Linked DNA regions of Homo sapiens: regions 2, 3 and 4 are each linked to region 1. Evidence: promoter capture Hi-C in 16 types of primary human blood cells and fetal thymus (Javierre and others, 2016). All regions are on one chromosome and are shown on one strand. The core of a region is centred on a gene start or on the middle of the fragment in contact, and the rest is flanking DNA. Distances in the headings are between cores, read along the strand shown.

Region 1 (6,645 bases), core at 17-2,516:
CCGCTCCCAGCCTCCGATAGCGCCCGCGTCGCCGCCACAGCAGCGTTCAGGACCCAACGAGGGGCCCAGGGCCATGGGAGCCGCCAGAGTCCTGGCTTCCAGACGTGCCAGGGGCGCCTGCAACGCCGGGCCTCCAGCGGGGAGACTCCACTTGCCTCTCAGCTATATTTGTGATTTACTTGAGTCTTTCGGAGCCGTGGAAAATAACTACAGAGATACTAGGCACTGCCAAGGAATGCTTCCATTATCGCCCTCATTTTACTCCTGGAGGTCTAAGCAAGACCCCAGTAACCCGCCCCACGGATCCCCAGACCCCAGGCAGCCTCTGTGGCTGCAGGGAGCCTGGGCCCACTCGCTGGGTTCAAGGAGAACCCTCCGACTTGGGGCCCGGCTGGCTCGAGGAACCGGACCCTGTGATGAAGATTTTCCAGGCTGGATACGTAAGCAAATCAAATCGCAAACTAATGACACGAAAACCATATTCACACGAAAGAAAAATCGACTACGGTTATAAAAGTGTATGGAATTTGACCTCGCCTTGGAGAAACACTACACAAAAGCTATCTTTAATAGACGCCTGTCATTTAAGAGCGGCAGGGACACTGTCCCTCATGCGCTCGCAAAAACAGAGCCGTAATTGTAGCTGCTGCTGCTGCGGGCAGGATTTATTTCTCCAATTGGCTAAATGGCTTTCCCCCTTCCCCGAAGGTGATATCTGTATTTTCAAAATTCAGAGCTGCTGGCAGGACGGTCAGTACCGACCCCAACCTCGACACAAAAATAAGAGGGGCTGCAAAACGGGGGAAATAAAGTTGTTGTAAATAAAATGCAAGTCACCACCTCCCCCCAATCCTCTGCATCCTCGCCGGGCGCGCGATCGGCAGCTGACGGCCTAACAATTGGTACATCCTAATGGAACTGCGAGGGAAATGCAATAATTTTGCCATAATGGGCTGTAACCTCAATTCGACCCCGGCCCTTGCAGCCCCCGGTCGGAAGCTGGGCGATGAGCCCTGCCTCCAGCGGGTGGCGCTCGAGTCCGGCTGAACGGCGGCAACTGGCGGCGGGCACGCGCCCGGGGCGCGCGCGCCACCCCCCTCGCCTCCACCCAACTCCCCTATTAGTGCACGAGTTTACCTCTAGAGGTCATCAGGCAGGATTTACGACTGGACAACAAAAGCACGTGATTCGAAGTCGTACCCCATATTTGGGTGCCTACGTAGGAGGGAACCAAGTACATGTCCCAGTCATTTCCATAATTCATCATAAATTGTGCAAGGGTGCTATAGACGCACAAACGACCGCGAGCCACAAATCAAGCACACATATCAAAAAACAAATGAGCTCTTATTTTGTAAACTCATTTTGCGGTCGCTATCCAAATGGCCCGGACTACCAGTTGCATAATTATGGAGATCATAGTTCCGTGAGCGAGCAATTCAGGGACTCGGCGAGCATGCACTCCGGCAGGTACGGCTACGGCTACAATGGCATGGATCTCAGCGTCGGCCGCTCGGGCTCCGGCCACTTTGGCTCCGGAGAGCGCGCCCGCAGCTACGCTGCCAGCGCCAGCGCGGCGCCCGCCGAGCCCAGGTACAGCCAGCCGGCCACGTCCACGCACTCTCCTCAGCCCGATCCGCTGCCCTGCTCCGCCGTGGCCCCCTCGCCCGGCAGCGACAGCCACCACGGCGGGAAAAACTCCCTAAGCAACTCCAGCGGCGCCTCGGCCGACGCCGGCAGCACCCACATCAGCAGCAGAGAGGGGGTTGGCACGGCGTCCGGAGCCGAGGAGGACGCCCCTGCCAGCAGCGAGCAGGCGAGTGCGCAGAGCGAGCCGAGCCCGGCGCCGCCCGCCCAACCCCAGATCTACCCCTGGATGCGCAAGCTGCACATAAGTCATGGTAAAGCCAGCCTTTTTCTAAATCCACGCGACCGCGGGGACGCGGCTCTCGGTCCCCCCTCTCTTCTCTGCCGCCCTCTCCCAGTCTCTCTTGGTCTCATTTCTCCCAGCCCTGCGGAGCTCTCCTTGCCGTTCTCCCTCCCCTGCCTTCCTCCTTCCTCCTCTTCTTTGCGAGCACCCTGCGCTCACAAATAGTGGGGGAAATGGGCGTTCTCTGGGACAGTTTAGACGTTGGAAGGGGGAGGAAGCAAAAAACCCCTCTGGAACCCCACGCCTTGGGACGCGCTCCCGGGTCAGGCCAGCCGAGCAAGGCGCAGAGAGGTAGAGGATGGCTGTAGCAGCCGTGAATCGGGCTTGTCACGGCGGATAATTTATGAGGAGGGCTACGCTGGGGAAACAGCGTTACTAATTACAGCCCCCGAAAAGGGGCTTGGGGGAAAGAATCGAGGCGAGAGCCTGCAGGATTCTGAATTTTGGGGGCAGGAGGGAGAGAGAAGGAAAGGGAAGAAAAAGAAAACAGGCTCCCCAACCCTGCAGGCTGGAAACGGGAGGCGGCTCTCGGGGCTGGAACTTTGAGGGAGGGTGACCCGAAGGCCACTTGGGCGCTCAGGAAAGGGCCTTGCTTCCTGGGTTTCTGTGCGGTGGGCAGCCTGGGAGGGCTGTGCCTCCCGATCGGGGCGCCCGGGGCAGGGCGGAGGGGGCAGGAGAGGGGCCAGGGAAAGCCGGAGTCCGCCGGGACACGGCCCCAGCCTCAGATGGGCAGATTGTTCCCAGGGTCCAAATCGTATTGTTTTCTTTCTAGAAAGGAAGAGAGAAGGAAATTCGGGAGGGGTGTGCGGGCTGGTAGGCAGAACTTGTTGAGCTTTTCGCCTGGGTTCCCTGCTCATGACCCAAGCTTGTCCCCCTGGCGGACTTTGGAAGACAGGAGTTGGTGGCTAAACCGCTGACTTTTCTATTGCAGACAACATAGGCGGCCCGGAAGGCAAAAGGGCCCGGACGGCCTACACGCGCTACCAGACCCTGGAGCTGGAGAAGGAGTTCCACTTCAACCGTTACCTGACCCGCAGAAGGAGGATTGAAATAGCACATGCTCTTTGCCTCTCCGAGAGACAAATTAAAATCTGGTTCCAAAACCGGAGAATGAAGTGGAAAAAAGATAATAAGCTGAAAAGCATGAGCATGGCCGCGGCAGGAGGGGCCTTCCGTCCCTGAGTATCTGAGCGTTTAAAGTACTGAGCAGTATTAGCGGATCCCGCGTAGTGTCAGTACTAAGGTGACTTTCTGAAACTCCCTTGTGTTCCTTCTGTGAAGAAGCCCTGTTCTCGTTGCCCTAATTCATCTTTTAATCATGAGCCTGTTTATTGCCATTATAGCGCCTGTATAAGTAGATCTGCTTTCTGTTCATCTCTTTGTCCTGAATGGCTTTGTCTTGAAAAAAAATAGATGTTTTAACTTATTTATATGAAGCAAGCTGTGTTACTTGAAGTAACTATAACAAAAAAAGAAAAGAGAAAAAAAAACACACAAAAAGTCCCCCTTCAATCTCGTTTAGTGCCAATGTTGTGTGTTGCACTCAAGTTGTTTAACTGTGCATGTGCGTGGAAGTGTTCCTGTCTCAATAGCTCCAAGCTGTTAAAGATATTTTTATTCAAACTACCTATATTCCTTGTGTAATTAATGCTGTTGTAGAGGTGACTTGATGAGACACAACTTGTTCGACGTGTAGTGACTAGTGACTCTGTGATGAAAACTGTGACTCCAAGCGGTGTGTCCCTGCGTGCCTTTATAGGACCCTTTGCACGAACTCTGGAAGTGGCTCTTATAAGCGCAGCTTCAGTGATGTATGTTTTTGTGAACAAAGTTACAAATATTGTCCAAGTCTGGCTGTTTTAAGCAAACTGTGATCAGCTTTTTTTTTTTTTTTTTTTTTTTTGTATTTGTTTTTAAGGAAAAAATACTGACTGGAACAAAAAATAAACTTTCTATTGTAAGTTCTCTTGGTCTGGTTTGTGCCAAATAGTGAGCGGCTCTGTCTGCTTTTCTGTCTGTCTGTGCAGTCTTGGAAGCTGTTGGGTCTGAGGCTACCTGAGCAGATGACCTGTGCAGGGAGACCTCATACCAACACTGTCCCATCGCTTCCCTACCTCTGACCCATTGCAAAGTTCAGGGCAGAAGGTGGAAAAAGCTGTAGGCTGTTCCAAAGCCCCAGAACACCCTGTCCATCTCTGAGGAAACCAAGTTAACTTGCTGGGTACAAAAAAGAGAGAAAGAGCAAGAAAAAAGGAGAAAAAACCCAGGGCTTTGTTAGCCGCCCTCAGGCCACACAGATCCTGCCTCTTTCCTAAGGCTGTCCTAGGCCTCCACTTGCTGAAGACGCTGCTATGTCTGTCTGTGGACCCCAAACCCTCTGCCCTTAACCCATCCCAGCACCCCTTCCCCACTCTTCACCCGGGACCCAGTTGGCTTCTTTTGCTACAATTAATTTGCTACAAATTGAAGGTACTTACCCCATCCTAGCTCGATTGGGAAACTCCTCAGAGCAGCTAAAGCGCAACTAGAGATTTGCACATTTACCGACTGCTTACACTGATGCCGTCTTTCCTTTTAAAAGTTATAAAACAGTAAACTTTATAAGCCCCAGTTCCGGCTATATGACATTTGGGTGCCAAATGAATAGGGTTTTGTCTATGAATTAGATCGTAAAATCATCCATAGCACAGACAGATCGGCTCACTGGCTATAAAACGTCACGTGGGGCCATTAAAGTAAGTTTTATGGTTTTGGGGAGTTGACATCCAACATTATATACCACATAACATATAATCTCACTAACGCTGGACTCCATTTGACTCTTTTGCAGGCTACGTGTGCCGCCTGGCCATTCAAACTGTCAATTTTAGGTCCAGAAGTGTCCAAACCACAAGTTCTCAAAACTCTCTGAAAAATGGCTCCCTCCGAGTTAAGGTAAGCTCGCCTCCTGAGCGCTTTCAAGTTTATTTGTACTTTGGAAACTTTCTCTCTCTCTCTCTCTCTCTCTCTCTCTCTGGTTCAATAACTCAGGCTGCCTCTGAATTCGAAAAGGCAGAGCAAACTTTCCCTCTGCCCAAAAGAGCAGCGCCAGGAGCCAACTCTGCGGAGGCAGCAGAGTGAGCAGCGCCTGTGGCCGCGCCGCATCCCCAGGCCTAACTTTAATTGCAGCACAACCGCGGATGTTAATGACTTCCGCTGCTCCCGCCGGCGTGCAAAAAGATGATTTTTGTGTGCGAATGGGCCTGTGTGTGGGGACCTGGCAGGGCCGCACCCCCAGTCCCCCGCGCAATTGCTGGGCCGGCCGGGGCCAGCTCCTGGGGGTCGCGGAGCCCTGGGGTCGGGGCTGGGAGACAGTGGGGCGCCGGCCGCGGGCGCCGAGGGCCGCGCTGCGCTCAGGAGTTTGAAAGAAAGGCCGGGGCAGGGCCGAGGCGGACTCTGGCGGGATTCCTTACGGGGCTGTGGCAATATGTCTTCGCGGGCCGGGGTCATTTGGCAGGGCTGAATTGAGGCGGCGGCCTTCGGGGCCGGGTTTCAGGCTAGCTCGCGAGAGCGGGAGGGTGGCAGAGGCCGGCGAGGCTGGGGCTGCACCTCCAGGCTGGGCCCCCGGGTTGCAAGGTGGATCCTGGGCTGCTAGCGCCCACTGGACCCTGAGGACCAAGGATCCCCACCCTGGTGTGGGGGGGTGTTCAGGACCCCCTCCCCCGCACCCGGGACCAGGCCCTGAACCCTGTTTGCCTGCATGTTCTTTTTATTTCGGCGGGACTGTTCTCAGCCGCTTGTGAGTCTGAAGCAATAAACTTTATGGCCGGATTTAACTTTAGTCTTTGAATCCCCAGGCTAATTGAAAGGGGTTAAAGCGCTTTCTTTTCTTCCGCTTTGCCTTTCTTCTCCCTCTCTTCTTTCCTGTTCCTCTCCTTCTTTGTAGAATTAAAAACATCTACGCACAGGACCCTCAGAAGGCAACTTAGGCGGCCCCCTGGATAACATTAAGATTGGAGAAATTCACTCCCCCTCAACATACAGGCGAATTCTCTGTTCCAAACTGTGCTCTAAAGTTTTGGGGGAAATTGAGGTGTCTTCAGTGCCCAACTTAAAAGTCCCCAGAGCCATTAGGTTGTTTTTCCTGACACATCATAAACGGTAGTTTAGGGAAGAAATTGGTCCTTTGTCAGTAGGAGATTTCCGCCTTTCTTTTGTTAGTTGCTCTTTCTGTTTGATCCCAGGAAATTTACATAATCTATGATTTCCAGAACAGTCTCCAAAATTGCACCAATGGGTGAAGTAAGGTGAAATAAGTTTATCCTGGGCACAATTCCATATTGGCCCCAGTCACCCCTTCTGGCCCCAACCCCCCATATTCTTCAATGGCAAAACCCAAGCCCAGTGACTGGGGACTGTGGCCTGTCCTGGGATCTTTTTCTGGATGGGTACCCACAAGGGACCCAGTAGATTTCCTCCAATCCTATTTTAGGAATTAAGCCAAATTCTCCTACTGCATTCAGAAATGAAACAAAAAATAGGATCTGCTTTTCTCCTTAGGAGCTGGGCAGTTTTCAGCAAGTATTAATTGGTAAAGATACCTATTAAGTGCTTAAAGTGAAAAAATTGAAAGTATAGATTTGGAATTTCAATAAACTTATTGTGCAGAGGCCACCTACACTCAACATAAGTCCAACAGATGTCCCTAAAGTCAGAGGTCCAGAAAGCAAAACCTA
Region 2 (6,645 bases), core at 2,938-5,437, 1.3 Mb after region 1:
TTCGCCATGTTGGCCAGGCTGGTCTTGAACTCCTGACCTCAGGTGATCTGCCAGCCTCAGCCTCCCAAAATGCTGGGATTACAGGCATGAGCCACCATGCCTGGCCTAATCCTTTTGTTTTGATGCTTAAATTGCCCCACATTTGGCCAGTGGGAACCCTTTCAGGTTGACTTCTGTGTTCTATTGACATATTGCTATCATTTTTGTGGGCACCTTTTTAACTTTCTTGCAAGGCAAAATGTTCCAGACTCATCTTTACCTTCACCACCCCAGCCCTGGAATCAACCATTTCTCCAAAGATCCCTGGCTCCTTTCAGTTAGCAATGGTATTTATAAACTAAGACTGGGGTGCCAGGTGTGCTCACAGCTAAATGGAATGTCATTGCTTTTAGGATGCAAAAAAAATAAAAAAATTTTAATGACGTCATGAGTTTATATTGACACTTCCAAGTCCAATCTAATCACATAAAGCCCTCCCTTGCTGTCCCCACTCCTTTTTTAATTCTTTTCTTTACAGTTAGAACCAACCCTGGCTCCCAACAATATCAATCCACCTATTATGTCAGAACTATAACATTTGCATACTTATTCATGTTCTCACCCTTAGTTTAATCCTAGCTCTACAATCATATATATTAAATACTCACCAACAGTCCTTTTGCCAAAGTTTCCCCACTTATCTCTCGGTTGGATGGCTGGATGAGTCTCATCCTCTAGTGGACTCCTCAGGAATAGCAGGTGTTTCATTATCTTTCAGATGGGAAAGCCTCTCCTGACATTACTTCTGGTTTCCAGTTCTGTAGGTCAGCTCTGGCTTGCTTTGGGCTCTGCTGAGCTCCACATTTCTTTCCATCCCAGGATGTAGGCTGGAGGAGCAGCCCCTCTCTGGAACACTCTTCTCATAGCAGAGGGTAGGAACAAAGAGGTTGACCCAAACGATTCAAGTACATTTAAAGCTTCTGCTTAGATGTGGTGTACATTTGCTCTCATTCCATTGGCTAAGGCGAGTCCCTTGGCCAAGCTTCCTGATGGGCCAGGAAGTACACTCCTCCCACATGGAAGCATGGCAAAGGTGAGGAGTGGCTGATACTTTCACAGAAAAGAGAGATGTTAAAATGCTGAAGTGTAAAGTACATCTTCAAGTGGGCGATTTTGTTTAGCAGAATTTCCCAACTTAATTGACCACAGAAATTTTTTTTTTTCTTTGAGGTACATCTTTTAGCACTCAAATTCCCTGGCGGACACTTTGGGAAATGCTGCTCTGGTCCATCTGGAGGTGTTATAATTGACCTTAGAAAAGACTTTCTTTTGGAGGTCTGGGTAAATGGAATATATGGAGTTCTGAAACTCATGTTTCATTGAGTGAGAACCAGACGTTAAAACCTTCCCACATCAGCAAGTCTAATGTTACTTTATTAGCTAACACTTCTTCAGCCTTAAAGAGCTGTCAAAAATAGATTTGGATAATAAACCTTAAATTCACATGCTTTCTGATCTTTGTGGATCATCAATGATCTCTTTAGGAATCATCCATGCCCCTAATCATCTTTTTTATTTTCTAATAATCCGTTGCTAAGGAATTATCATTTTCTATGTATTTCATCAAATAACAAAATCAAGAATCTCCATCTGGTTGTTTTTATGTCTCTCTCTAGATGATTACTGTCTTTCTTGGTAACAGATATGTGAGTAATAAATTGCTTTTAATGATGATGAAAAATTGCTTACTGAGCATTTGATATGTGCATGGCAGGGTGCCTTCACTCTGTGGACTTTGGCTACATGGAAAGCAGAGAAATAAAATTTAAATTAGGAACACATATTCTTTCTTTATAGCATAAGGTAAGTGTCTCATAACCTTGAAGTTAGGGGATACAGGTCATTGGCTAAAAGGATGGAAACCAGGGCATCCACATTCTAGTGCCAATCTGGGGGTACACTTGAACAATTTATTACAAGTCTTAGTCTTCTTATTTGCAAAATAAGAGATACTATGTGGAGTCTTCAAGAGGTTCTGCTAATGAAGACAGAAAAGATGAAGAAAGTATTGCAGAAGGATAGAAGTGTGCTACACAGTATAGTTTAAGTTGCAGTTCTTTTTATCCCAAATGTTTGATCTTTCAAGCCTTATTTTTCTAATTTTTAATTATAAAATATATATAACATAAAAGTGGCCATTTTAGCCATTTTAAGTGTACATTCATAGTGTTATACAACCATCACCACTATAAATTTCCAGAATTTTTTATTTCATACTGGAGCTCTGTACCCATTAATAAAAACTCTCCATTCCCCCTTACCCTCAGACCCTGGTAGCCTTTATTCTACTTTCTGTCTTTATGAATTTGCCTAGTCTACGTATCTTATATAAGCAGAATCATACAATATTGTCCTTTTGTGTCTTGTTTATTTCTCTTAACCTAATGTCTTCAAGCTTCATCCATGTTATTGCACTTAAAAAGGTGGGAATGTGATTTTTGGCTCTGCACTTAGCTTAGATCTGAATCAAATTAAGCCTCATCCAGGATGCTTCAACAATTTATAATTTAGTGAGGTTAGACTTGTTTTGGGCTCATAGGTGGTTTAAATTGGGCTTAAAAAGATTTATGCAAAATTCCAGTGCAATATTAGTAAGATCCAAAAAAGTCAGAACTTCGTTCCTTTTTAAGACTGAGTAATGTTTCACTGGGATAGTATTCCATTGTATGAACGTGCCAGGTTTTGCTTATCCATTCATCTGTTGATCTATGTCCACTTGGATTGTTTTCACGTTTTGGGTATTGTGAATAGTGCTGCTGTGGACATGGTGTACAGAACAAGTCTCATATTGAAGGGTTCCAGTTCACCTCTGCAGTCTTAAAGACTTGACACTCAACTGGGCAGAGGTACAGTATCTGGCGAGTAAAAGAAGGCAATTGGCAAATGGTTACACTTCTGGCTTGAAATGTTATAGGGTTAGTTTCTTTCCCCTTTTTTTCAGGGCAGATCTTTTCCTGGAATCAAGTTTGACTCCTAAAACCACCTTGGTGTGGTGGTGGAGCCCCAGGCGGATAAGAGCAGAAAGCCATTTGAATCCTGCTGCTTTACTTATTAATGGAGCCATTTGCTGTTGCGGAATTGAAAGTATTACAACTGAGTGACAGTTGTTTAATATTCTGATTACATGAACTTTGTGTGTTATGGTTTTGCCATTTGACATATTAGATTTCATAATGCAATTGAATTTGTGTGCTGGAACCATGTTTATTAACAGAGACTGACATGGTTCTCCTAAGAATTTACGTTAAGCTGACTGCAGTGATGTGGGAAGTCTATGGTGATAGTTGGGGGAGGCTGGAGCCCGTATGGACTAGAATCTTTTCTGTTTAAGTTTCACAAGAAAACTTCTTGGAGATGAAATCCATGTTTTCACTCATTTTGACATATTTTACAATGATGGATGTGAGATGGGGGAAGACTGGCTCAAAAATAGGAGATTGCTGAGGTCAAAAGTCAAAGGAATTGCTGTTTTTAAAGAGATTGTCCAAGGGGGAGCCACAGAAAAGCACTCAAACTGTCTGATTTTATTATTGTTTTCTCTCATAATGCCTTCCTGGCTGTGGGTATAAATCCATACTAGTTAACAAAAGTTTTGGTCGTATACAGCATTTTTTCAGGAGAATAAGATCTGCTCATTCCAAGATAGGTAACTGGGTCTAGAGCTATTTTTCAGTATAGTTATGGCCTAAAAACGTGGCAACATGATTTTTGCCTCGGCCCTCAGCTTACATTTGAATCAAACAAGGCCTCACCCATGAGGCTTTAATAATTATTAACTTAGTGAAATTGGGCAGGTCCTGGTCTTTAAAGTAGTTTAAATTGATTCTAAACAGATTTATGTAAAATTCCAGTGTAATATTAGTAAGATCCAAATAAATAAAAACTTCATTTCGTATTCTGGGAAATTATGGTTTTAAACTAGCAGAGAGAGTCTGTATGGTTAAAAATTATACAGCAAACAGACGGGCTATACCCATATCCAGGTTTTAATTTTTAAAATTATTATATATTAATTTTTTAAACTTACGAATATAATTAATTATGAAGGTAATATTACAGCAAATATATAAAATAAAATACTGCTTACCCATAATCTAACATCCTAAAGCAGCTTCTAATGTGTTTTGGCACAATTATTTATAGTCTTTTTCCTCATTGTAACTATTTAGCTATTTTTCTTTACATATTTATAATAATAATTTAAGGACAGTGTTTTATCTTGTTCTTCTCATTTAATATTGCATTAATATATTCCCCATGTTTCTACATTGTCTTCATAGCCATAATTTTAAGTGGCTTAATGAAAGGGAAGTGTGTAATGTAGAGCTTTCTGCCTATTTCCAGTTTTAAACTAAACCAGACTATAAGCATATGCAGATTTATCGTTCAAGATTTCAGGTATTCTCAGGCAATCCAGAGGTCCATGGAATGTGGTAATTAGTAATTTTACTGAAGCATTGGGGGAATGTGAGTCGCAAGACTGGAACTCAGGAGCTCACCAGCTAGAACACCAACTGCTTACTCAGTATAAAGATATTAACATAGTTTGCCTATTCTCAATTTGTCCCACAAGCATTTTACAGGGGGAAATTATTGTATTAGTTAATTTTTGCTGCATAACAAACCATCCACATTTTAGAGGCCTAAAACCACAAACATTTATTATTTAGTGCGTTATTCTGTGGCTGGCTGAGATGGCTGGGAGAGTTCTGGCCCGGGCAGACTCGGCTGGAGCTAGATGGTCTAGCATGGACTCAATCACATAGTTGGGTTGGCAGGCTGTTGGCCAGTGCCTTGGCTTTTCAGTATGTTTCCTCTCTAGCATCATAGCCCTATCTTGGGCTTATTTGCCTTAAGGTCTCATGGTTTCAGGTGCAGAAAGAGAAAACAAGATTTATGTGCAAGCGTTTTTCAAGCCTTTTTTGCTTGCATCATATTTGCTAATATTCTGCAGGCCAAAGCAAGTCATATGGCCAAACCCAGATCAAAGGATGAAAAAAGAGACTCTATTTCTTGATGGGTGGGGCAGAAATATCACAGGGCAGAGGGGCATGCAGACAGGAATGGAAAGAATTATTGGAACCATTTTTGCAAATAAACCAACACAATTTCATATATAGATGTACAGTCAAATTTGGGAATCTTTAAAAGTCCCTGGCAGATTCCTCCACAAACCCAAGGCCCACACAACTTGTAATTCATGGGAAGGGGGAGCTTCCAGTTATGGGCAAGTATTGTAAATAATACTTTAATGTACTTCTTTGTGTATATAGTTTTTAAAATATTTTGAGTTATTTGGTCAGGATAGAGTCCCAGAAGAATTCTTGGGGTAATGAAAACGAGTATTTTTATGTCTTTTAATATTTGCTTTCCAAAAAGTTGTGTTGAATCATGTCCTGTCAGCAATGTATGTTTGATTACCTATTTCACTATACTTCAGTGTTAAACTGAATGTTAACATTAAGAAAATTTTATAGTGAAAAGTTAAAAAATGGTATCTAATTTCTAGGGGTGTGGATTCTGCCATAAGAGAATTCTGCAGACTGGGTGGCTTAAACAATAGAAATTGATTGTCTGCTAGTTCGGGAGGCTTGAAGTCCGAGATTGAGGTGTAGACAGGTTTAATTTCTTCTGAGACCTCACTCCTCGGCTTGCAGATGGCGGCTTTTCTCTGTGTGCATGAAGCCCTAGTGTCTCTTCCTCTTTTTATAAGGATAACAGTCATATTGGATGAGGGTTCCACCCTTATGACCTCATTTAACTTCAGTTAACTCTTTGAAGGCCCTATTTTTCCAAATACAGTTACATTGGTAGTTAAGTCTTCAACATAGGAATTTTTGGGGAACACAATTCAGTCCCTAACAGGGTGGATCTAAAAGCTGTATGTGGCCTGAAGCTTATACAATTTTGGGGCCTTCTTTAAAAAGAATGTAAAATCACGCATACAAAATTGCTAGGTCCCCTGCCTAGGGTTTGGGAAGGGGCCTGTGCAAGCGAAGGGCCCCGAGACTTAAGGTTCATGGCTTACAATGAGCCCACCTCTGCTCATTGTTGTTTTTGTGCTTTACTTAACAGAGGGCATGATTGCTACTTGCTTGTATTTGCCAGATATAGAGTTAAGGCTATTGGTTTGATTATAGAGCAACAGGAGAGCAGTGTTATCATTTAGGGTGGAAGGGTCTCAGGTTTAAAGCTTTGAGTTTAAACAGACACTTAGGGTTTTTAGGAGGCCTTTCTTGTTCTAGTGGAGCAGAAAAGCACTTGCGTGGTATGTTTTTGTGACAATAAAGTCATGAAAGAGTGTGTCTTATTGTCGAAAGTGCCATCTCTCCCATCTGAGCACCGACGGCTAAAACATGATCAAGAGGGGACACATCTTCATTCTTTAGTTAGATACAGGGCTTAGAATTGAGGTACCCTTGGGAGAAGGAACACACCAACTTAAATTTGCATTAAGTTATACATGCCTGACGCTAGATTTTCTGGGAGCAGATTTTCATATGGGGAAGCAAGATGGTATTAAGTACGTAAACACGTGTGTTTGAAGAGAAGGTACTGAAAAATGGAGATTGAAGTGCAAATGACAAGCTTCACTTTAAAAAAATT
Region 3 (6,645 bases), core at 1,509-4,008, 1.2 Mb after region 1:
AATATAATAATTAACTTGGCGTGGTGGAATGTGCCTGTAATCCCAGCTACTAGGGAGGTTGAGGCAGGAGAATCACTTGAACCTGGGAGGCAGAGGTTGCAGTGAGCTGAGACTGTACCACTGCACTCCAGCCTGGGTGACAGAGCAAGACCCTGTCTTAAAAAACAAAAACAAAAACAGAATAGGAGCCACATCTCCATATCTGATTCATCTTTTAATTATCTCCAGGGCTTAGTACGATGCTTTGTACATAATAGGCACTCACATTTATTAAAACAATGGGCAAAGGTGAGCTAGAGGAAAATAATGCTAGCAATTTATGTAGGATGGATCATAGAGACCAGTTAAGACTACTGTAATAGACTGATGTTATTTCATGGACTCTCTCAATATTTCATTGATGGTGAGACTGAGGAATTATAAACTTTTAAAAAGTTAAATTGTTCTATTGCTCCCCTTCTTCCCAACTATAAAGTCCTGCAGTAATTTTCCATATGTTAAGTTTATCCAAGAAAACCTTCTACTGGGAAGTTAAAGCGAGTCTCAACTGCAAAGAACTTTGGTCTTCTCATTTATTTAATTAATTAGAATGAATAGCATGTAATAATGTTGCAAAGAGAGGCCTCCTACTCAGTGTTGCCATTCCTAATATCCTATCTGGAGCTTTGAGAATACTTGTCATGAAGATCCATTCACAACATTTACACCCCATGATATTGAGGATTTGCTTCAAAATAATCCTGGGGAGCATGGGGGAAGTACAAATGAAACACAAATGGTCCTGAGTTAATAATTATTGAAACTGGTGGTGGGTGACAGATTTCTTTATACTTTTCCTGTAATTTTTATATCTATTTTTGTGGGATATATTTATACTGCATTCTTTATCCTTCGGTATATTTTTGGCAATTTTTCATGACAAAAAGTTTTTTTTTTTTTTTAATCTATGTCTCCAAAGCTGAAGACCTCACACAAAGTGTACAGGACTGGGGGCCATTCCACCTTAGGTAGCAGGTCTTAAAAAATGGTACTCCAGGCCAGGTGCGGTGGCTCACATCTGTAATCCCAGTACTTTGGGAGGCCGAAACGGGGAGATCACCTGAGGTCAGGAGTTCGAGACCAGCCTGGCCAACATGGTGAAACCCCGTCTCTACTAAAAATACAAAAAATTAGCCAGGCATGGTGGCAGGCACCTGTAATCCCAGCTACTCAGGAGGCCGAGGCAGGAGAATCGCTTAATCCTGGGAGGTGGGGGTTGCAGTGAGCCGAGATCGTGCCACTGCACTCCAGCCTGGGGGACGAGAGTGGAACTCTTTCTCAAAAAAAAAAAAAAAAAAAAAAAAGCCAAAAAAAAAAAAAAACCAAAAAAGGTACTCAACCCAACTGATGTGTGTCTGTAGCATCCAACATCCAAAGGTGGATGTAAGCGGCAATGTTTGGGTGCCAAATATTACTGCTGCCCTAAGACCACCTTCATCCCTCCTCCATGTGCTAAGCATCCGCTTCATTTGGTGAACCCTATGTAAGCCAGTCCTTTCAGTGGAAACAATGATATTTAAAGTACCTGTGAGTTCTGATAATTACTTCCAAATGCTGCGTTTAGAGTCAAGGAAGTAGAAAACTACATCAAACAAAACTGGCTTATTCTTTGGGAGACTATGGAATCAAAGATGGAATCAAAGTCAAAAATAACACTAATGCCAGATTGTTGCAGGACTGTGAGACCAAGCCACTCTAGATGATGTCTTGGCCAGATGGACAAACCTTATAAAACAACAGAAGACAAGTCAGGAGCACACAGAATGTGATTTTTCAGCATTAAAATCAAAACTGTAATCAATCAGAGTAGAGACAATTTCACATGGGCTAAGTGGGATATTTATGAACTGTATAGCTCAGCCCTAGCTGCAGAAGCTGCCCAAATGGCTAGCTGCAGGCAAGATGAAGGAAGGGCTCCGGAGGCACACAGAGGGCACGCTCCAAGAGACTTTTGGAGGTACTGCTCCTGCTGGTATACCCCCCAACTCTGGGAGTGCAGTGTAGTTCTCAGAGAAAATGAGGCTCATTTGGAGCATAAACTGAAAACATTTTTTGCACAAGCCCAGATGTGGGTGGCTGTTATGAAGTCTGTTTAACTAGAGGGATTACAAATAGCAAATTGCCAATAAAGAGTTGGCTTTTATGAGTTTGAAGGGAAACTTAGTGATTAGCCTCAACTCCAAGAAGTAAAGCATCTTAGATTAGAATACAGAAGCCCCTAAACAGAATTCTTAAAAAAAAATTTAAATCTAATATTTGGTACATATAAAATATATATATCTCTCACATATGCAAATCACAAAACATAATATACTGAACACTTACTAGCCTAAGTGTTATGTCCAATTTAAGAACAGGAACATTGCCAATTGCATCCACCTTTGGGCTGCCTTCTCACCCTCCTTCCCTCCACGTCCTACCAGCAACCACTAACCCGAATTTTCTATTTATCATTTTCTTGCTTTTTATCACTTTATAAATTTCTTAAAATTATATTGTTTGGCTGTGTTTGAGCTTTATAAAAATGGCATCGTTATATCTTAGTCTCCTGGGACTTGCTTTTTTCCATCTTCTTTTTTTTTTGCTCAACATTATGTTTCCAAGCTTCATCCATAGCTTTGTGAGGAGCTGTAGTTCATTCATTTTCAGTGCTGTATAATAATCCGTTGTGTGAAAAGACCCCAAATGCCACTGATTTACATCATCTCCATCTATTGATGTTGTCAGGCTTGTGAATTTTTGCCAACCTAGTGGGTATAAAATGATATCTCACTGAAGTCTTAAATTACATTTCCTTGTTTCTAATGAGGCTTAACATCTTTACCTAAGCTTATTTGCCATTTGCTTTTCTTTTTCTGTGCAATGCTTGTTTATGCCTTTTCCACTCTTTTTTTTCTATAGCGCTGTCTTTTTTCTTACTGATTTTGTGGAGTTCTTTTTTTTTTTTTTAAGTGAAAGCAAGTTTATTAAGAAAGTAAAGGAATAAAAAAATGGCTACTCCATAGGCAAAGCAGCTGGGATTCTTTATGTACTAAGCAGCATGGGTTTTTAAAATCCATTTATCAATCTGTTGATTTTTAACATGTTAGGTGCAGAGCATTTAGAACTGGAAGGACCATTTGAAATACATAGTTCATCTCTCTCATGTTACTGAGGAGGAAAACTGAAGTGCACGGAGGTAAAGTAACTCGCCCAGTATCACAATTTGTGTTTGTACCATTGCTGAGGTGAGCACCTGGGCCTTCTAACCCCAAATTAAATTATTCTCCTATGTGACAACCTCCTTTAATGGTTTTTTCTCATTTATATTTAAAATTTTTAAAGTACCCAAGTAATAATACACGTTCATGGTAGAAAAAGAAAAAAAATTAGCAAAATGAGGAAAATAAAAATCAGTTTTAATCCCACCTTCAGATGCAACTATTCTCTGTTTTGTATTTCCTTTCTAGATAATAACTATAACGGATCATTATTATGAAATGCTTACTCTGTGCTAGTTATTATGGAGTGCTTCTTACAAAATGCTAGGCATTTTGTAAACACTCTTCATGTGTGGATGCTTTAATCTTCTGCACAACCCTATGATGTAGATTATCACCATCAGTGATAGGCAGTGTGGCAGGCAGAATGACAGCCTCCCTGAAATGTCCACATACTAATCCCAGGAACCTGTGAATGCGTTATGTTACATGGCAAAGGAGAATTAAGATAGCAGACAAAATTAAGGTTGGTAATTGGCTGATCCTGAAATAGCAAGAATATCCTAGATTACCCAGGTAGGCCCAACGCAATCAGAAAGGAAGAGGGAGACACAAGAGGCGGCATGAGAGTGATGCGATGTGAGAATGATTCAACCAGCCTTTGCTGGCTTTGAAGGTGGAGGAGGAGGCCAGAGCCAAGGAATGCGGGAAACCTTTAGAAACTGAAAAACCAAAAAATGGATTTCTCCTTTTGGTACTCCAGAAAGGAATGCACCCCTGCTGACACCTTGACTTTAGCCCAACATGGTAGACAGAACAATGGCCCCAAAATATCCACATTCCAATCCCTGGAATGTGTGACTGTGTTACCTTACATGTCAAAAGGAAGTTTACAGATGTGATTAAGACTTTTGAGAAGGGGAGATTATCTTGGATTATCTAGGTGGGCCCAATGTAATCATAAGGATCTTTAAAAGAAGCAGGCAGGAGGATGAGAGTCAGAGAGAAGATGTGATGACAAAAGCAGGGAATGGAGTGCTGTGCTTTTAAGACAGAGGAAGGGGCCAAAAGCCAAGGAACACAAGAGGCCTCTAAAAGAGGTAAGGAAACAGAATCTTCCCTTGAGTCTCTGGAAGAGTATGGCCCTGTTGACACCTTGATTTTGGCCCAGCAAAACCTATTTTGGACTGACCACCAGAACCGTAAGATAATAAATGCATGTTATTTTAAGCCACTAAGTTTGTGGGAATTTCTTACAGCAGCAATAGGAAACTGGTACACCTAGTTTACAACTTGCTAGGGCCACAGAGTTGGCCAGTGGCAGAGACAGGATGTGGTTTCAAGCCATCTGGCTTCAGAGCCCATATCTGTTACCATTATGACATAAACATACATGGACACATAGAGATTTAAATAGTACATACATCTCAATGAATGCAAACCTTCCATAATATTTTGATAGTCATTCAGCACCACCATATTAAATAGTTGTAGTCCACTCAATAAATATACCACTCCCCATATTTTATATAATAAATCCCTTATTATTCAATACATACGTTGTTTCTAATGTTTCAATATTGTACTACTGGCAATGATAAACATCTTTCTAGTGCTATTAATTATTTCATTAGGAAAAACTCTTAAAATTAGAAACGCCAGGTCAAGTTACCCCTAAGAAAGACTGCATTGGAATATAACGGAAAATAAAACATGCAACTGGAAGTCGGAGCATCTCTGCCTTCTTTTTCTGTAACACCTTTGGTATTAAGCTATTTTTCTTATCCATGGTACACACTCAATCGTATTTTTGTTTTTGAAGGTTTTAGCTATAACACTATTTCTTCTGTAGACTCATAGGTGTTAGAGCAAGAAGGTATTTAGAGGTGATTTAGTCTAATCCTTTAAATCACAGGTAAATTCCCTGAGGCCCAGAGTGGTGAACTGACTCACTAAAAGCTCTCCTTACAGGGGTGCTTGGTGAGAACGCACCTTCCTGACTCCAAGGCCAGCTATCTTTCCACATCTGCTGCAAATGTCATGAGGCTAGCCCCCAAGTTGGGACCATTATTAATTTTTCCCCTCAAGTCATGCGAAACATCTCTTGTCCTTTTAATCAGAAGCATATTTTAGGGGCTGCGGAATAATAAGCACCCACATATCCAGTATTAAAAGATAAACTCTGGCCCTTTCCTGGAGTGAGCCTGTTTTCATTTTATCATTGTGAAATGTGGTAGGATTGATGGCAGACAATAACTCCCCACCTCCCCCAGTATTTTATTAAGATCCGTTCTTACAAAGGATAACCGGAGGTTTTCCATCATCACCTCGTTGTCTTTTTTCTAACTTGGTTCGTCTGCTACCCAACAGTAGTAAGGTTACCTCATCCTGGAATCTGATGTACACAACGGTATGCAAACTCTTTCCTTCTCTCCGAAGCAAACAATGAAATGGGAAAACACTGCCATTTTCTGACTGACCTCAATCGCTGAGGGTGGACCCCGCACGTTACATCAGCAGGCTGGCTCCATTACACTGCCCTGCGCTGTGCTCGAGCTACTGAAATATTGATTTTTACAGAGCCGGCGCACACACACTGAAAAATCAATATTCCAGTGCACACAACAGAACAGGCAGCAGAGCGGGGACAAACTCCGAGCCCCAGCAAGCACTGCCGCCGGGCCTTGACCGAGGAGGGGGTGGGGGGCTGGAGGAGACAATGCCTGGGGAGAGGCCCCTGCAAACCCGCGAATGGTCAGATAAACAAACAAGTGTGGAGAGGGAAGAGAAAGGAGAGTGGAGAGAAAGATCCTTGAGGATAAAACAGTTGGAAGGAGCAATGATTTATCTTTCCATAGGGGGAAATGGGGAGAAGGAAAGTAAATTAAGAAGAGTGGATGGGAAGAATTTTCCAGGTAAGAATCTTCCCATAAAAATGTATGTTTTTCTGTATCACCAGGTCAGACTTCAGATGCAACCATTATAAAGATGATACACATACTTTGTTACCTGAGGGAAAAAATAACTAGGCCAGTTCTCAGAAATATTTATATTTTTTAAAATGCAGTCCCCTTCTTTTTCCTTGGTGACTACAGGCCGGCATCAGAGAGTCCGATTTATAACATGGGCTCTACCTTTGCAATGCAGTTACTTTCTTTTCCTTGGGGAGAGGGAAGGAAGGAAGACATCCTGGTCACGTGGCCATTCATCAATTTCCCTTTCTTTCTAGAACAGCATCTTCTTTGGCGTGCTTGGGGAACCACGTTAAAATTGATTCTACGTGCCCGTGACCTCTTCTCAGGGAATTCTGAGCTCCCCCGAGTCACACCCCCATCTAGATGAGGAGAGGAGGACGTGTCCCCTGGTTCAGTCTCGGGTGCCCAGTACCCAGCAGACGTCAGGGTGG
Region 4 (6,645 bases), core at 1,714-4,213, 1.1 Mb after region 1:
GGCACTCTAATCTTTGTTCCTTCCAGTGATTATTCTGTAACTTGATCCCTCAAAGACGCCTCAGATGACACTAATGAGCAGCTTAAAAAACTGGAAATTCTTGAATCAAAGCACAAGATTCTACCCAAGGTACTTAACTTCCAGTTGGTTGCTTTCACCACAGTGAGGGAGCTCTACAAGCCGTGATTCATTTCAGCTCCTGTTGCCTGAGCCTATGTAACTTTATCAGAATTATTGTGAGTCACATCAACTCTCTGCCTAATTAACTTTTTCTGCTAAAGTGGTTTTAAGATAATGTACTTGCTTTTACTTAAATCATGGGAAATAGACCTTCTAGAGGTTAGAGCTTGATGCAAAATGATTGTCAACTCTTGCTATTTAATATTTTTCTGAAATCTTTTGGTAGTCATGGCCATACCAAAGTGGATTACTTTCCAGTCTTATTCAGGAACAAGATGTATTATTCTAACTTGTAATGGGGGACAGGGAAGTGTGGAAGAATAAGATTATGCGTCAGTGTCTAATCACATTAAAACATAATAACAGCTAATATTTATTGAACACTTACTATGCACCAGACCCTGTGCCGAACATTTATTTATTCAAACACTTATTTAGTTCTTACCCTAATTCTACAAGGACTTGTCCTCATTTTACAGATGAAGAAATTAAGGGACTTGCCTGAGGAGTTAAGTGGCACAGCTTCCACCCAGAACACTGGCCACAAAGCACATCTTCTTAACCAATATCTAGATCATGGATTCAGATGCTTTTTCTGTAAAGGGCCAGGCAGTAAATATTTTAGGCTTTGTGGAAATATCTTACAGCAGAAGGCAACTATAGACAACATGTAAAAGAATGGGCATGACTCTGTTCCAATAAAACTTTGCTTATGGGCAGTAAGATGTGAATTTCACATAATTTTTTTGTCATGAAATATTATTTTTCTTTTGATTTCCCATCATTTAAAAAGGTAAAAACCATTTTTAGCTTATAGGTACAAAACAGATGCTGGACCAGACTTGGCTGCAGGCCATAGATTGCCAAGCCCTGATCTAGATCATTGAAAATAGGACAAATTATGCGAGAATGAAATGATCACTGTAAGAGGACTCCCCATCCTATTCTAGATCCTTCTGGACGTTAGCCAGGGTCTAAGTCTCACGCTGGATGTTCCTTTTTAAAGAAATCACTTTCCACTGAATCCCCCCTTCAACCTCAGAGTCAGCCTGCTCTCCTGGGTTGCTCAGCGCCTCTCCTGGACCCCTACTTAGACTGCCCCTTCCTAGGCAGTTTTCCTTCCTGCCTCTTCCCCCAGCCTCCTATCTCCTTAGAGAACTGGTATAAGCTAAAGTGCTTTTTCAAAATCTCTATTATGTGTATTTGCATTTTAAAGGAGGTTTCTGGACAGGGCAATTCAAAGATAGAACTCTGGAGCATTTAGCCTGGGAAGATGGGTGTTGTGCATTTGGGGGGTGTGGAAGAAGGAACTTTTGCGCAGAGAGATTCTTATCACTCTTACAGTCATACTGAACAGAGCCTGGGAGGCTGGCCCTGACCAAGAGCCCCAGGGCCTCCAAGACCTTTGGACTAGGCTTGGCTGTAGGTAGGGAAAGGCTATTGCTATACTGTGGGAACCCCTAGGGGCTCTTTACCTAACAGCTGTGATTAATGAGTTGAATGGAGGAGGGGATGACTTCCTTCCTTGGCCCACTCAGAGTTCCCTGGAGGTGACAGCCACTCCAGGCACTCATCTCTGTGGCAGGCACCCCGTGGGAAGAGGTTGCATCAGCTCCAAGGTCTTTTCAGTTGTATCAGGTGGTCCTTAAGAACTGTATGTGGTTGAGACTCTGAACTCCCGGACACAGCAGAGAAGCAGAAAGTTGCCTTCTCAAAGGGGCACGTGTTCCCTGAGCTGTTTTATATCCCTGAGCTTTCCTGTGTCTTATGATTGTTTTCCCTCTGCCCCCTCCCCAAATATCCATTACGGACACTTAATCTTGTGTTAATTATGTATATGTTTCTGAGCCTACCAAATTCATCTGCATGTAGAAGTTTACTTTTATCCCATGTCATAGTTGTGGGGGCCAAGGCTCTTGGTCCTGTAAAGGTTTGCTGAAAATCACTGAGATGAGGCAGGTTGATTAATTGGAGAAAAGGCATATACGCTTATTTAACGTGCATTCACAGGAGCCTTCAGCATGAAGACTCAAAGATACAGGGGAAATTGTCCATTTTTATGCTTAGGTTCAACAAAATATGGACAGCCATATGGGAATATGATTGGAGGAAAAGCATAGATCTAAGTCTAATAGAATGAGTGGGGAAGCCCAGCAAGAGCTGCCTGTCTAGATTCTCCCTGGCCTCTCTGAGCGCACATTTCTTCCTTCTGGGTGTGGGGCAGGACCCTCTCTGGAATGGGGGTCTTATGACCTACTATCAAACAGGGTAGGTCAGATTATTTATTTATGGCCAGTTTTAATTTTTATTATTTATTTATTTGAAACAGAGCCTTGCTCTATTGCCCGGCCTGGAGTGCAGTGGTACGATCTCAGCTCACTGCAACCTCCGCCTCCCGGGTTGAAGCAATTCTTCTGCCTCAACCTCTTCAGTAGCTGGGACTACAGGCGTGAGGCACAACGCCTGGCTAATTTTTGTATTTTTAGTAGAGATGGGGTTTCACCATGTTGGCCAGGCTGGTCTTGAACTCCTGACCTCAAGTGATCCTCCCGCCTTGGCCTCCCAAAGTGCTGGGATCACAGGCATGAGCCACCGTGCCCAGCCCATATGGCCAGTTTTTATACAGATAGGGTGGAGGGAAAGTTAAACTAATATTTTTAGGTTTTATGGCTGGCTTTGGAAAAGGCTTCTGGTTTCTATGGCTAGCCTCCGAGGAGAATGGGACTGAGAGACAGGAGGGCAAGAGAAGGTCAGAGAAAATCATTTGCTTCTGAGGCTGCTGCTGAGGGCTTCATTTTGGGGTGTTGTTTTCTGAGCCCCAGCACAGTCTTTCTGGGAAGGTGGGAGGGTACCTGACTCCTTTTATTGTAGATCCAGCTAAGACTCCATGGCTGTCCAGAGCTTTCTCTGTGGTTTTCTCATGGTAACTGCAAATGGTGAAAGGAGGATATTTGGCAGGACTGTGCTCAAGGAATAGCAAGATAGAAGAAATGCCTGACCACTGTCCTCCCAGAGGTAGAATATTCCCAGGGAAATGCCTTTCTTTGTCAAAGTCTCTTTTCTTTTCTTTTCTTTTCTTTCCCTCCTTTCCTTCCTTCCTTCCTTTCTTTCTTTCGCCAGCTAAGTATATGCATGTACTTTTGGACCTGGAGAACAATAGAATGTACTGTTGTATTTTTATTCTCTTTGATTTTTTAAATTCCAGAATTTTCCTTTTCCTTTTTTGGGGAAGAAAAAAAGTAAAATAAATAAACTGTGATGATTTGACATTTCCCTGTAGCTTCAGAAAGGAAATTTATATAATACATATCTGTCTTTGGCTGTTTTCTCCCTCCAAGGTCAAGTTTGGTTTTTAGATGTGGCTTATAATACTTTATATTGTTAGAGGGTTTGAAACTCATCAATATTTGAACAACATCCTGAATTGGATGGTATGTGGGTTGTGTTATATTTGGCCTCTGTGTCTGCCTCAGAGGTGGGGGTTTTAGGATGGATTGATTAACACAGAATGTTAAGCCTAATAATGAAATTGTGGATGGTTCTGAGCTTGGAGCTGTCTATTCAGACTTTCTGCCACTGAACAGTGTGGTGGCTCCATTCACCCCATGCTGCTTTTTCTAGACTCGTCTTCACTTACTACTCACAGATTCCAATTTCTATTCTTGCCTGAACAGAGGAAGGGAGCCTTGAATACACAGGCAGGATTAGGCACATGAGTGGATAACCCACTTACAGTAGCCCACTTCCAGACAGCCCAAATTCTAGAAGAGCATCTAAAGAGGGATGGGTATTATTTCAATTTATTTCCATTTAATTCTCTGCATCCTTGGTCTAAGCACAGCTGTGTCACTGTGGTGATGTCCCTTGCCTATTGGGGATGATGATGGGAGCTGGGATGGCATATGGTAATAACAGATACCATTTATTATTGAGCATCGACAGCAGAACTAAGAAGATGTATGTGGGTTATCTCTTTAGTCCTCACAGTAACTCTGCAAGGTGGCATTTTCTTCATGCGGCAGATGGGAAAACCGAGGCTAAGAAGGATTACTCAACTTGCCCCAAACCACACAGCTTGAGTAGCAGGGCTACTCCAGCTAACTCCAGCTGTCTGTGCGCTTTCAACTGTTACCCCGCTACACCTGATCCCGCGGGCACAGGGCATGCGCGGGCGGTGTGGGCGCGTCGGGTCCTTCTCCCTTTGTCTGCAGTGAGTGATCCGCGCGCCCCCTGCCTGAGCCATCCCGGCTTTGCTTTGTCTGTTGCATTGTTGGCGAGACCTCTACTGCCTGAGTAGTTTGTTCAGTGCACAGTAAAGAGCTCTTTAGTTTTATTGAAATTATGTTTATGTTAAAATTATGTTATCCAAAATCTTGGATTACAGAGCAGCAGAACTGTTTGCAAGGACTACTGTTTAGTGAGTTGTTACAGAAACACCTTGTAAAATAATGAGTTATGTGAGCTGGAAGAATCAAAGATGTGGAACTGGGCAATGTAAACAATTTATTCCTGCCAGTAACAGCTGTAAAATGATGATAGCGCAAGTCTCTTGACTTTATTCCCTTACTCTGATTTTTATTTTACAGTACATTCACTTCTAGATCTTGTTGCTAGTTTTTAAGAAAATTTTAATTTTTTTTTTGAGACAGGATCTTGCTCTGTTGCCCTGGCTGGAGTGCAATGGTGAGATCACAGATCACTGCAGCCTGGAACTCCCTGGCTCCAGCAAGCCTCCCACCATAGCCTCCCAAGTAACTAGGACTGCAGGTGTGTGTGCCACCATGCCCGGCTACTTTTTTTTTTAGTTGAGATGTGGGGGAGGTGGGGAGGGTCTGCCTATGTTGCCCAGGCTGGTCTTGAACTCCTGATCACGATGGATCCTCCCACCTCAGCCTCCTGGTGTTAGAACTATAGGTGTGAGCCACTGCTCCTGGCCATAGATCTTTTTTTTTTTTTTAATACCTCACTCAATTTTTTAGAATTTTTTTTTTGTATCAAACATAATGGATTTCACATTGTTTTAAAAAGTAATTGGGAAGGAATACTGTTTCAGAGGACAGCTTACAGAAATCTCTACTATATGACACAGTTTCTTGTTGGTAAACACCATTAAAAAAGTTCAGAAGATTCCATGAGAACTTATAAATTACCTATGGTCTATTTAGAATCCTAAACAAATACACAGTGATTTACAGTGAACTGAGAGAGAAAGATCTAGGAAGAAGAAATTTTAAATTTGCTTGGCTCTTTTCTTTCCTTTTCTGAGACAGAGTCTCACTCTGTCACCCAGGCTGGAATGCAGTGGTGCTATCTCAGTTCACTGCAACCTCTGCCTCCCAGGCTCAAGCAATCCTCATGCCACAGCCTCCCAAGTAGCTGGGATTACAGGCATGCACCACTACGCCCGGCTAATTTTCTTTGTATTTTTTGTAGAGACGAGGTTTTACCCTGTTGTCCAGGCTGGTCTCAAACTCTTGGGCTCCAGTGATCTGCCTGCCTCGGCCTCTCAAAGGGCTGGGATTACAGCACTGAGCCATCGTGCCCGGCCCCCGATTTTATTTTCAAAAATACATTTAGTGACAAAACATCACTTTCTACCTACATACTTAATTTTGGTTTCTCTCAGTTTTATTTTGTTTTTGACACATTTAAATTCCCTAAATACTGTAATAAAAATATTCTAAATACATTCTAAATATTTTAAGCCATTTTTTCCCTCTCTCCCTCCTTCCCTCCCTTCCTCCTTCCTTCCCTTCCTTCCTTTCTTCTTCCTGTGTTCCATCTTTCCTTCTCCCTTTCCCTCTCTTCTTCTTCCTTTTAATCACAAGGTGCCTTCCCCTGTTAGGAATGAGACAATCATTTTGTAAAAATATTAATTTAAAAAATTTGTTTAGAGATGTCCTTTGAAATGAAGCTTCCATACTTTTCATACTTTGGAATTTTTCAAAAATATTCGTCTTGAAGGAAGTCTTGTTAAAATCTAAAGGACCGAGAAACATATTTTAGTTCTAAGGTGTTTTTATAGAGACTCTGATAGCAAATGAATGGAAAGAAATACTGCTTTATGCACTACGGAAATGCAATGATTATCCTGCTGCCAACGTAACCTGGAGTGATATATAACCACCTCTCCCTGGCCTGGGAGATTAATGAAATGACTCTAATTTTGGCAACCCTTCCCACCAAGAGTGGGTAACATAACTCTAAGTTGATTTGAGCAAAGGGCAGAGCAAACTTTAAACAGAGCATCATGGCTTCTACTCACTTTGGTGACATTCGGAGTGCTATTTCAGCCCTATTTGATGAAGGTTGTCTGGGACCTCCTCAGCCTCTGTTTCCATGCCTGTACCAAGATGACACTGTGACTGCAGTCCAACTTGCCTCCTCTGTCAGATGACACGCCCTTCAGATGATTGCGTTCGCCAGTTAATAAACAGTCACTTTTTGAAACGGAATCTCTCTCTG

Evidence for each region. Contacts are between HindIII fragments. The CHiCAGO score rates a contact against its expected background, and 5 or more counts as called.
Region 2: a fragment that was not itself captured here is called in contact with the fragment with the promoter of HOXA5 in region 1 in 1 of 17 cell types (total CD4 T cells); the score reaches 6.4 in total CD4 T cells.
Region 3: a fragment that was not itself captured here is called in contact with the fragment with the promoter of HOXA5 in region 1 in 1 of 17 cell types (activated CD4 T cells); the score reaches 6.0 in activated CD4 T cells.
Region 4: a contact is called between a fragment that was not itself captured here and the fragment with the promoter of HOXA5 in region 1, in 1 of 17 cell types (monocytes). The highest score is 5.4, in monocytes.

Annotation. Positions count from the first base shown.
Region 1 is chr7:27,138,302-27,144,946 of GRCh38, reverse strand. It overlaps HOXA5 (homeobox A5), which reads left to right and starts at 1,266. Exons shown (of 2, transcript NM_019102.4): 1 at 1,266-1,901; 2 at 2,862-3,895. The coding sequence starts at 1,340. The coding sequence ends at 3,112. HOXA3 (homeobox A3) reads left to right here. Exons shown (of 6, transcript NM_153631.3): 2 at 4,761-4,864. It overlaps HOXA-AS3 (HOXA cluster antisense RNA 3), which reads right to left and starts at 4,583. Exons shown (of 3, transcript NR_038832.1): 1 at 4,408-4,583. RefSeq lists an enhancer at 4,859-5,437. The HindIII fragment of the contact is 13,335 bases long and covers 1-2,797 here.
Region 2 is chr7:25,833,356-25,840,000 of GRCh38, reverse strand. No RefSeq gene overlaps it. Among named protein-coding and RNA genes, the nearest start is that of LINC03007, 47 kb to the right of the region's middle. The HindIII fragment of the contact is 3,501 bases long and covers 2,437-5,937 here.
Region 3 is chr7:25,951,983-25,958,627 of GRCh38, reverse strand. All of the region lies in intron 6 of LOC105375199 (a long non-coding RNA gene), which reads left to right. Among named protein-coding and RNA genes, the nearest start is that of MIR148A, 5.3 kb to the right of the region's middle. The HindIII fragment of the contact is 225 bases long and covers 2,646-2,870 here.
Region 4 is chr7:26,076,841-26,083,485 of GRCh38, reverse strand. The region is part of intron 1 of LOC105375199 (a long non-coding RNA gene); the gene reads left to right. Among named protein-coding and RNA genes, the nearest start is that of NFE2L3, 72 kb to the left of the region's middle. RefSeq lists an enhancer at 4,270-4,339. The HindIII fragment of the contact is 6,266 bases long and covers 1-6,096 here.